2 separate regions of the Homo sapiens genome follow, and region 2 is linked to region 1. Evidence: promoter capture Hi-C in 16 types of primary human blood cells and fetal thymus (Javierre and others, 2016). All regions are on one chromosome and are shown on one strand. Each heading gives the region's core, a stretch centred on a gene start or on the middle of the fragment in contact. The rest is flanking DNA. Distances are from core to core; before and after follow the strand shown.

What was found. Contacts are between HindIII fragments. The CHiCAGO score rates a contact against its expected background, and 5 or more counts as called.
Region 2: a fragment that was not itself captured here is called in contact with the fragment with the promoter of SQLE in region 1 in 1 of 17 cell types (monocytes); the score reaches 7.1 in monocytes.

What each region holds. Positions count from the first base shown.
Region 1 is chr8:124,994,360-124,999,754 of GRCh38, forward strand. It overlaps SQLE (squalene epoxidase), which reads left to right and starts at 4,146. Exons shown (of 11, transcript NM_003129.4): 1 at 4,146-5,335. The coding sequence starts at 5,045. SQLE-DT (SQLE divergent transcript) reads right to left here and starts at 3,839. Exons shown (of 2, transcript NR_134457.1): 1 at 3,604-3,839; 2 at 2,629-2,801. RefSeq lists enhancers at 3,467-3,526, 4,457-4,506 and a silencer at 3,747-4,246. The HindIII fragment of the contact is 7,996 bases long and covers 851-5,395 here.
Region 2 is chr8:123,775,836-123,781,118 of GRCh38, forward strand. It overlaps FAM91A1 (family with sequence similarity 91 member A1), which reads left to right. Exons shown (of 24, transcript NM_144963.4): 4 at 1,430-1,487; 5 at 2,190-2,257; 6 at 2,824-2,937; 7 at 4,150-4,240; 8 at 4,645-4,707. Among named protein-coding and RNA genes, the nearest start is that of FAM91A1, 10 kb to the left of the region's middle. The HindIII fragment of the contact is 1,265 bases long and covers 1,915-3,179 here.

The sequences.
Region 1 (5,395 bases), core at 2,896-5,395:
TTCAATACATTGAGGAAATGCTTACCATATGCCAAATACTGAGTATACAACTGTGAATAAGACATGGTCCTTGTCTTGAGGAGTTGAATCCCTTGTGTTAGGGAAGCAGGAGCCTAGGAGAGCCAGAGTGGCACCACTTTAAAAATCAACTCCATCTTGAGACTAACAAGGCACATTCCTTTTCGGTCACAACCCATAATCATAACACGTTTATAGTTGAGGAAACAGCCTAAAGATACCTACTACAAGGACACACTCCTACAAAAGCAGAAAGCCCACATGTCCCAATACCCATAACAATCTATGTTTTCAAGATAATTACAGTTAAGCTTTGATGTATTCACACACTAGAATGTCAAGGATAGTTATCTTTAAATCAATAGAATAATTTGTAATGCTGTCTGCTCACCGACATGTAGACACAGCTTAGCTTTTTACATAGATAAGACCTCTGTATAAGGAAAACTTACAGACAAGACGTGCCTCCTCTTACTCTCTGGGGATGCCCTACTTTGTAATGGAGTAGCTTTTAATAAACTCTCTTCTCACTGCGCTCTGCTACTAGCCTTGAATTCCTTTTTGCATGAGATCTCAGAACCCTCTCTTGAGCTCTTTTTCGACAACTTGGAAAAGGCATTGTGAGTAGATAATTATAGTACAAATTGGTGAGTGACTGCTACAACAGAGGTGGAATTATGAAAACTTGAGGAAAAAAAAGATGATTAATCTGAGGTCTCAAAGCATGGGTAGTTGAGGAAAGCTGGGCGGGACTTTTTCTTGCATTGAGAATGGCACTTAAAACACAAATCTAGCCTGGTGTGCCAAACTAGGCTAACAGTGAAAACTCAAAAGCTTAAGCAAAAAAGAGATCAGATGTGCTTGTTTGTTTCAAGATAACTAGGTCTTTGTGTGGGGAGAAAAATCAAGTCACACATTCCTAAATTCCTCACATACATTTTCTGGGCTTGGATTCAGACTCTGCTAGTCACTAGCTGTGATCACTTCCCTGTGCATGAGTTTTCTTGTCTGTAAAATGGGGCTAAAAAAATAGTATCTTAGCTGGGTGTGGTGGCTCACGCCTGTAATCCTGGCACTTGGGGAGGCCGAGGCGGGCGGATTGCCTCAGCTCAGGAGTTGGAGACCAGCCTGGCCAACACAGTGAAACCCCATCTCTACTAAAATACAAAAATTAGCCGGGCGTAGCAGCCTGCGCCTGTAGTCCCAGCTACTCGGGAGGCTGAGGCAGGAGAATCGCTTGATCCCCGGGAGGCGGAGGTTGCAGTGAGCCGAGATCAGGCCACGGCATTCCAGCCTGGGTGAAAGAGCGAGACTCCATCTCCAAAAAAAAAAAAAAAAAAAAAAAGTAGTATCTCCCTAAAAGTGTTGTCAGGAAGCCAAAACGAGCTAATATATGAAAAGTATTTAGAATGCTACCCGTACTATATGTGTGAGCTCTTGTACGAAAGTATTTCTCATGTACCTACTTGATAGCATTATGGCTTTCTGCCAGTAAGCAGCTGATTTTGTCTCACATTTCATTGCTTTCCCTTCAGGTCTCAATGACAGATTTGTTTTTGAATAAATGAACCATGGCAAGATTCAAAAATACTTAAGCAATGCTTATATAACATTTAATTCAGTTCAGAAGATATAGGCATTCAGAGTGTGCTCTGCGGTAGGTATTACAAGTGCTCTTTTTGCCCCAAATTCAGAAGTGGATCTTGAACTGCCTAAAGGATTCAGACCTGACATTGTAAGAATGACTTTGTGAAGATAAAAACATATGAAGAAAGTCGCTTTCCAGAGATTAAAAAATTATCTACTTAATAAGAAAAATTCCTTTTATGATAATCTTGAGTACAGAGTTAGCAGGTAACAGCCATCCTGGTGATAACTGTATTCCCATCTGTAAGAGTCAGTTGGCCGGGCTTGGTGGTTCATGCCTGTAATCCTAGCACTTTGGAAGGCTCAGGCGGGAGGATCACTTGAGGTCAGGAGTTTGAGACCAGCCTCGCCAACATGGTGAAACACTGTCTCTACTAAAAATACAAAAATTAGCCGGCATGGTGGCACGTGCCTCTAGTCCCAGCTACCCGGGAGGCTGAGGCTTGAGAATCGCTTGAAGCTAGGAGGCAGAGGTTGCAGTGAGCTGAGATTGCGCCACTGCACTCCAGCCTGGGCCACAGAGCGAGACTCTGTCACAAAAATTTAAAAATAATAAAAGAGTCAGCTGCTCCTCTATTATTTTAACAAAACAGAACTCACAGATACCAATAAGCAGTTTATTGAAGAATTCTCTTCAGGAAATGATTTCCCATACATTGAACTGATTCTCTTTTCTGCAGTCCTTTTAAATTTGATGTCAGTTCAGACAGCCAAACTTACTGGTAACAGTGAGGAATATTGTAGAAGAAAGAATAAAAGTATTGGAAAGCAAGGCAGTTATTGATAATTATGCATACTGGGGAACCACAAGATTTGGAGACCAGGACTTTGACTTTTGGTTTCATCATTACGATTTAATCACAGCTGTGATTTAGTCAAGCCATTTAACCTCTTTAATTTTCATTTTCCTCATTTTAAAAATCAAAGTTGTTTTGAGGGTCAAGTGAACGCCTGTGCGGGTGTTTTACCAAATAATTATTTTATTAGCAGATAAAACATAATATTGGGGGTGAAAAGTTATAAGAGGTGCCATGTTTTTTTAAACCCTGCCAAGTATCTGATACAGAATTGCAAAGGATGTTCGAGTTCATGAAGAAGTTGCCTTCTCCCCACAGAGGCAGAGTGACTTGTAACATCTGTAAAAGGTCACAGTCTGGTTAGCGGTAGCCAGAATCTGGGTCTCCTAACTCTAGTTGCCTAGTCTTGCTTTTATGCGCCAGTGTCGTTCATCATTCATTAAATACATGTTATGGAGGATAAATTAAGGGCAGAGCATTGTGCTAGGTGCTGTGGGTGATCTTATCAGACACAGATCTTTAGGGAATCTAGAGATTAAAAAGTATGAATAAAGTTATGTGACTTGGTGAAGGTCAATGGCGATTTGGTGGAAGAGGTGACAATGCAGCCACGCTCCAAAAGGCAGAAGGGATTTGCACCTATTATCATAGGGGTTAAAGAAGGAAGTCCAGAGTTAAGAAACAGGATGAGCAAAGACACTGAGGTCTTAAGCCTCAATAAATTTTAGGTAAGTTTCATCGTAGTAGAATAAGGGCTGTCTCACTCCGAGACTTTTGCACACTTTTGCTCCCTCGGACTGCTTGTCCTGGACACCGTGTAACCTCCCCCTGGGCGCCTCACCAGACTTCTCCAGGCCAAGGGAAGGACCACCTCTTGGGTTTCCATGGCTCCCTCTCTAACCACCCCCTTCTCAGGACACCTATGACACGACTATTTGACTTCTTTGCCTCCGAGCCCCCACCCCCAACGTTTCTGGTCTTGAGAGAACGGGCTGGGCGCATCCGTGTATCTCTAGCCTGAGCACCTGGAGCGTCCTCTCCTTTTCTTCTTAAGGCAAAAGCCTACTCATTCTTCCAGCTTCAGCTGGAATGTCAGGCTCTCCACGCACTCATGGCCCTCCCTTCCGCCCTCTCCACATACACAGGGCAGGGAAGCTGTGTCTGATTCCTCTTTCGGACTCCGGGGACTGACATATCATAAGCGCTCAATAAATGCTAGCGGAATGAATGGAAACGTTCCGACCCGAGGCAGCGGATCACTCCAGGCTTCTCCTCAAAGCGAGCACACCTCAGTCCAGGGAGGGCGCAGGAGCTGGGGCTGCTGCGGTGAACCAACCCCAACCCCGACCCCGACGCCGATCCCGGCCCCAGAGCGCCTCCTAGGCGACCCCTGGCCCCACCCACGCCGGAGCCGGCCCGCGCCCATCCCCACGCCCCAACCCGCACCACGCAACATCGCCCTAGCGCCTTTCGGGGCGTCGCCGCGCAGGTTGCGCCGCCTCCGATTGGCCAAACGCGGCATAGCGCCATCTCGGCCTACCGCGCGGTGCGCGCCCTCATTGGCCGGCGGCGGCAGGAGCAGGGGTAGGGGGCGGGGCAGCACGCGGGGCGCGCGGTATGGGCGGACTCGCGCCTGAGCCCCGCCCCCGGTCCCTCGTCTGGGCCGAGCCCGCCCAGCTGGCTGAGACGCGTGGAGCCTGGCGGCGAGTGGGGGCGTGCGACGGTTACTCTGGTTACTGGGGCCGCGCCGCGCTGGCGAGAGCCGCCGCCCGCGAGGGATGCTGGTGAGGAAGCCGTCGGGAGCCGCCGCCGCCATCTGAGGGAGGTACCCTGGAAACCACCTTTTATCGGTGGGGAAGTGCAGTCGCGGTGGGCGGCTCTGGGGGCCAGCGAAACGGGAGGCCTCTAAATCTTTAGGTTGGGGCTGCATTGCCCTGGAGCCGCACTCTTGAGTCCGAGGCCATCTTTTGTTGGAGAAGGCGTCGGCGTTGGCGTTTTCCCGAGGTTGGGCTGTACAGTGTCTCCGTCCGCGGAAAAAGAAGCCTCTGAACCCGCGCCGGCCCGCAGCCCCCGTGCCTTCCGGCCGCTGCTCGCCGTCGCCAGAGGCTAGGCCACGTTTCCCCCAGTGCCGAGGTGTTTCTGTGACCCTCCCTCCACTCCCATTCCCTTCTGAAAGGGCACCTGCTCTTGGTGAGAAAAGAAATTATAGCACGAAGAGCCAGTATCAGAAGAGTATCCATCACCCGCAGCAACCGCTCAGGGAACACCATCAAAAAAGAAAAAAAGGGAATATCTGGATTTCCTGGGCGAGGAGGAGCGAGTCTGCTCGGGAGCTGTTCCAGCAGGCGATTTTTAAATACTGCTTTCTACGCCCTATACAACTTGGCTTCACATACTTTTACACTAACTTTATATGATTTTTAAAAACTGGTCTGATCGGACTTCTCGTCCTGGGACACTGTTTACTGGAGTCTGGCCGGCTCTCCGTGCTCCTCTTGGTACCTCATTTTGGGGAGAACCTTAAACCCACTCGAGCAGATAATCTCCGCCTTGACCGGTGCCACCAAAGAAGCCTTGGAACCATGTGGACTTTTCTGGGCATTGCCACTTTCACCTATTTTTATAAGAAGTTCGGGGACTTCATCACTTTGGCCAACAGGGAGGTCCTGTTGTGCGTGCTGGTGTTCCTCTCGCTGGGCCTGGTGCTCTCCTACCGCTGTCGCCACCGAAACGGGGGTCTCCTCGGGCGCCAGCAGAGCGGCTCCCAGTTCGCCCTCTTCTCGGATATTCTCTCAGGCCTGCCTTTCATTGGCTTCTTCTGGGCCAAATCCCCCCCTGAATCAGAAAATAAGGAGCAGCTCGAGGCCAGGAGGGTAGGTTGATTTCAAAGCGGGCAGATGAATGTCTTATTTAGGAGTAGGATTGGGTTCACT
Region 2 (5,283 bases), core at 1,297-3,796, 1.2 Mb before region 1:
GCACCTGTAATCCTAGCTACTCAGGAGGCTGAGGGGGGAGAATCGCTTGAACCTGGGAGGTGGAGGTTGCAGTGAGCCGAGATAGCGCCACTGCACTCCAGCCTGGGTGACACAGTGAGACTGTCTCAAAAGAAAAAAAAGAAAAGAAAAGAAAATTAATGTATTTAACTATTCACTAACTGTCTAAAGAATGAATGATGACATAGACCCAACATTATATAATACAGGTGCCAGAAAAGAGAAATATGTTAGTAGTCTTGGCTGTTAATCTCTTTCTATAATTATTAACTTTTAGTTGTTAGCCTTTTTCCAAAGACAGCTTTTAGGCTTGTATTGGATAACTTTAATACTAGTTATATACTGTTTTCAAGTGAGCTTTATTAAAGATTGGCAGTATTTATTTAGTATTCATTTGCTCCTTAATTATGTTTGAGTGCTTCTGTTTGGGGCTCACTAGCCGCTTGAAGAGCAGAGAGGAGCCTAGAACTAAAGGAGTTGGGAACGTGTGGTAACATGAGGTTAGCCCTACATACGATGTGTGCTTTGCTGTTTGCTCCCTTCGTTATCTCCAGAAGCCCCTCCTTCATGGGTGCTTCTGCAGTCCCATGCATCCCGTGTTCCTCTTTTGGAGGAAATACTGGAGGAAAGCGAGAGGCCCGATAGCCCAGGTAGCATAGTGAAGAACCAGGGTAGCATAATGAAGGTGGCAGCTAATCAGGAAGTAGAATAGTTACTGCTGTCTCTTTATTTTTCTAGTGTAGTCCACAAATTTGGGAGCTAAAATAGGTGGAGTTTTTGTTTCACTTATCAGCTTTCATTTCAGTTACATCCACATGGTTGCTGCATTCTGGTTTCTGTTATTCTATCATTGGGTATAGTTCCTCGGTAGAAAACGGGCCTTATCCCCACAGGAAGCAGTGGGTTTGTTATTGGAGAAACAGATTGGGGCAGAAAAAGCTGGATACCAAGTTTAGCTCTTCTACAGATTGGGACTTGTGGGATCAAAGGCCACTAAGTGGTTGTAGTCTTCATTGGTAGTGCATGTTGATGGAGCTGTGCCACATTATTTGGCTTTCTCTCATGGTGGAGATCTAGGATCAGGTATGAAATGTGGAGAGGCTGGAACCCTGAGCTCTAATGGAGCCATTACTTACATAGCTTCCACAGGGCAGAGGTTATGGGGCAGCTGCCTGGGATTCGTAGAGAGCCTCTTAAGAAACCTAGACCTGAAAATCTGCCCTTTAATTACTAGGTTGGGAACATGTGTGGAAAGTGCCACAGGGTGGCATGTATGCTCTAGGTAGCCAAACTATGATCTTACTGCTTCCTGTAATAATCATTGTTATTGGCTGTAATAATATTGTATTTATACACATTTTTATTTAAGGACATTTTAGATTTCAAATTTAAATTTTTTTCTTTTTAAAAGGATATTATGAACAGTGAGAAAAGTTATGATTCATTGCCCAATTTTACTGCTGCTGACTGTAAGTATTTAATTGTGCTGAAGAAGGTAATGTTTAGGTTGTGTCTTTGTGCATCCTGTCATCTGTGAATATTGTCATGTGTGTTTTTAACCTGAAATATGTGAAAAATGAGAACAGTAAGCAACATTATCAGTGAGAATTTTATCAGATGATACCAGATGCATGTGTAAGATTTACTCTAAATGTCTAAGAGAGGCATATTTGAGAGTGGTAGAATCAGAAAAATAAGACTAATCTATATATTTCCAGAGAATGAAGTTCTTTCTGATACTTGGGCTGTGTGTATATTGAATGTGGGAGGAAAACTTGTGCACAGTATTTTTGCAGGGTGACATACAGTTTTTAGTAACTTAACTTGCTGCTGTTTTAGTATGCTTACTTTGGCAAAGTGTATATTTTGAATGTGTCATAATTCTGTTGTTTAAGAAGCTTTCGCTGAGAATTACATTTTGACTTCCTAAAATTGGCAGGACTTCTGCTTTTTTAAAATGTTTTTGTTAGAAGTGTCATCTTGAATTCATCTCTCCCAAAGTTTAGCTTTCATTTATGTTTTGGTTGAAGACGTCCTTTTAATTTGATATTGATATTTGACTAGTAATTGAAAGATGAAAATAAGCTCGGGTTTTTCCTACAATCGCTTGTGAACATATTGAGATTTCAAGATATGTTAAATGTTTTTAAAGGAAAGACTCTTTTTTTCAGGTCTAAGGCTTCTTGGCATAGGAAGAAACCAGTATATTGATCTTATGAATCAGTGTAGATCATCAAAAGTAAGTTAGTACTTTCTTTTTCATTGTTTTGGCCTCATCACACAGTTTGATTAGTTTTTTTAAGTGGTAGAAATAATGAATTGTATGTCTTTGACCAAATAAAATGTACTTAACACAGAAACAATACAAAAAAAACTCCTCAGTATTCTCTAGGTTATAGCATAAATGATTATTTAAAATTTTTAATGCATAAAACATTTATTTTTAAAAATTATTTTTGTTCTCTTAGTCTTTTTATTTGCTCATTCTACTTGTACAGTTCACTTAGTGGGTGAAAAAAGTGTTTGCATTTTCAAATGCATTTTTCACTGCTTGGGTTTCACTTGAGTTTGTGGAAGTAAATCTGGATTTAACAATTAGTGTTTTGAAACAATTTATTTTGAAACAATTTAAGAATGACTTTCTTCATACAATATGTTAATATCTAGAATTGTTAAGATTTTAAAACATGAAGATTTTAAGAAGATATTTATTTAGTCCATTAGAAACAATCTTATGATATGATTGATGAAAGAAGAAAGTGGTAGTTTTAGATTGCAAATTCTCAAATGTTTGTACCATTGCAGAAATTCTTCAGAAGGAAAACAGCCCGTGATCTTCTACCAATAAAGCCAGTGGAAATTGCCATAGAGGCGTGGTGGGTGGTGCAGGCTGGCTATATCACAGAAGATGACATCAAGGTAGAAATCTTTAAAAGTTAAACATAGAATTTTTATTTTTTAGTTTATTTTACAATTTTTAATTATAGCTTATAATTTTTTAAAAAGTAACATTGTTTTCCTGAAGAAAAGGAAACTTAAATTTAAAATTTAAAATGATCTTAGTAGACTAGAATATTGGTGAGTTTTTGAGATACTCTTTAATGGTGAGGGAGACTTGACTTGGTTCAAGTACAGTTATCTGGGGATGTTAATTAGATAGAAGCTTCGTGTAAAGTAACATGATGCCACAGCTACCTACAACAATAATACTGGCTAACACTTTTGAATACCTGCTGTGTGCTAGATGTGCCAAGCTCTATTACAAGTGCTTTTTATATTGTCTTACTTAATTCTCATAACAGCCCCAGAGGTATGTATTATTTGTACCCCCATTTCACAGATGAGGAAAGTGAGCACAGAACAATTAAGTAACAGCTCATGTCTTAGTGGTAGTAAAGGTCCAGGATTTTTTGGCAGTTCACCATGAAACTTGTACTCTTAATCACTGCAAAGAACTGTTGTACTGAAGTGATAGGTGCTTTTATGGGGCGATAGTGTCAAGATCAAGAGAGTTGATATTCCCAGTGGTCAGACCACATCTTAGAAGGGATATTGGTTTAGAGGAAAGGGGTGGAGTAATGAGGGCACCTAGAGACCAGGTTGTATTTATGCGTAGCTGAAGCAATGGAAATGAGTATGTGGGCTTCTTTTTGGTCTGCATTTAATTTTCTCCAGGGTACGTACTAAATCCATTGAGTGGAAGGCTTAGAAATTTTACTTCAGTCTAAAGTACCTCTTAATGGAACTCTCAAACTGTATCATAATAAGCTAGTGAACTTTCCTGTTACTGACAATATTCATGTAGAGTTTGACTAAATTTCTGGCTAGAGAGATTCTGAATTGGCAGATGGATCTAATTCCAATTCAATCACAAGGAACAAATATTACTAACTAGCAAATGTTGGTACTTACAGTAAGTTTGTTCTCTACATTCTGTTGGTATGTTGCATATTTTGGCACCTTAATTGATGGCTATGTGCACAGTTTTTTGTTTGAATTATAGAGTGATAAATATGTAGTTCATTGAGCTAATGACATGTAATCACTGGTTTCAACATAAATAAATTTCAGGAGACTTGTGAATTAGTTAATTTGGACAGAACTTAATTAAAAATATTTTGCTTTTCTTAGATATGCACTTTGCCTGAGAAATGCGCTGTTGATAAGATCATCGATTCAGGCCCTCAACTCTCTGGATCACTAGATTACAATGTAGTACATAGTAAGTGGTTAGTAGAAATGGTCTTTTGTCAACATAAAAACTTGTTTTAAACCATCAATAATTACTAGCAATTACTTATCAAGTAGGTACAAATAGTACTAGTTTCTAAGGCATGTTATTGTTTGAAATGTGACCTTAGTCTTTTGTTTTCCAGTGTGGCTATAATTAGTCACATACACTAGAAATTTATGCAACTGAATGATAAGAAAAATTTTGTACTTCAGAGTATATGCAGGAAACCGAGATTTAAAAACTTTAATTCTTTTTCTCTTCTATTTTACTTTTTCTTTCGTCACATAGCATTCATTTGTAAGAATCTTTACAGAAAGCCAGGAATTAGTTTTTTTAAAAAAATCACTGTTGTGTAGTGTTCCATCTAAAACAAGGTACTTTTGTTTCTTCAGGTTTGTATAACAAAGGATTTATTTATCTGGATGTACCAATATCTGATGACAGTTGTATAGCAGGTAAGTCCGTGCTAACATTTTTCACTGTTTTTTGAATGGATATCAGGTGCTAAGCATTGCATATCATCCGTTCTAGGATCTTAGATGTTAGGATATTTCAAGAAAAATATTGCTTCGTTATTACATTTTAACATAGTACATTGGTTTTACTTAAATTCTTTATTCTCATTTTTGTATTTGGTGTACATACTACACTAAAATAATAGAAACCCAAGGTAAATTTCTAACAATCCCAAATCAAATCAATATTTTTATAAATTTTTGTTACCTTTTAATCCTTGTTCAGTGTGTAGCTGTTTTTACATGTGTTCAGTAATCTCATAGAATTGTATGTTCTCATTTTCACTTAACATACTGGTGCATTATTTTTTCATGTTACTGTAGTCTTTTTGTCTATTTCCTTTTCCCTTCTTCCTTTACCTACTTCTCCAAGTTAAACCAATATTAGGAGCCTTGTATATTTGTCATACACTTTATGGATGTATCAATTTATTAAACCATTTTGTATTTCTGGTAATTTAGATTATTTCCAGTTTTTTTGCCACTACAATACTGATATGTTCAATATCCTTGAAT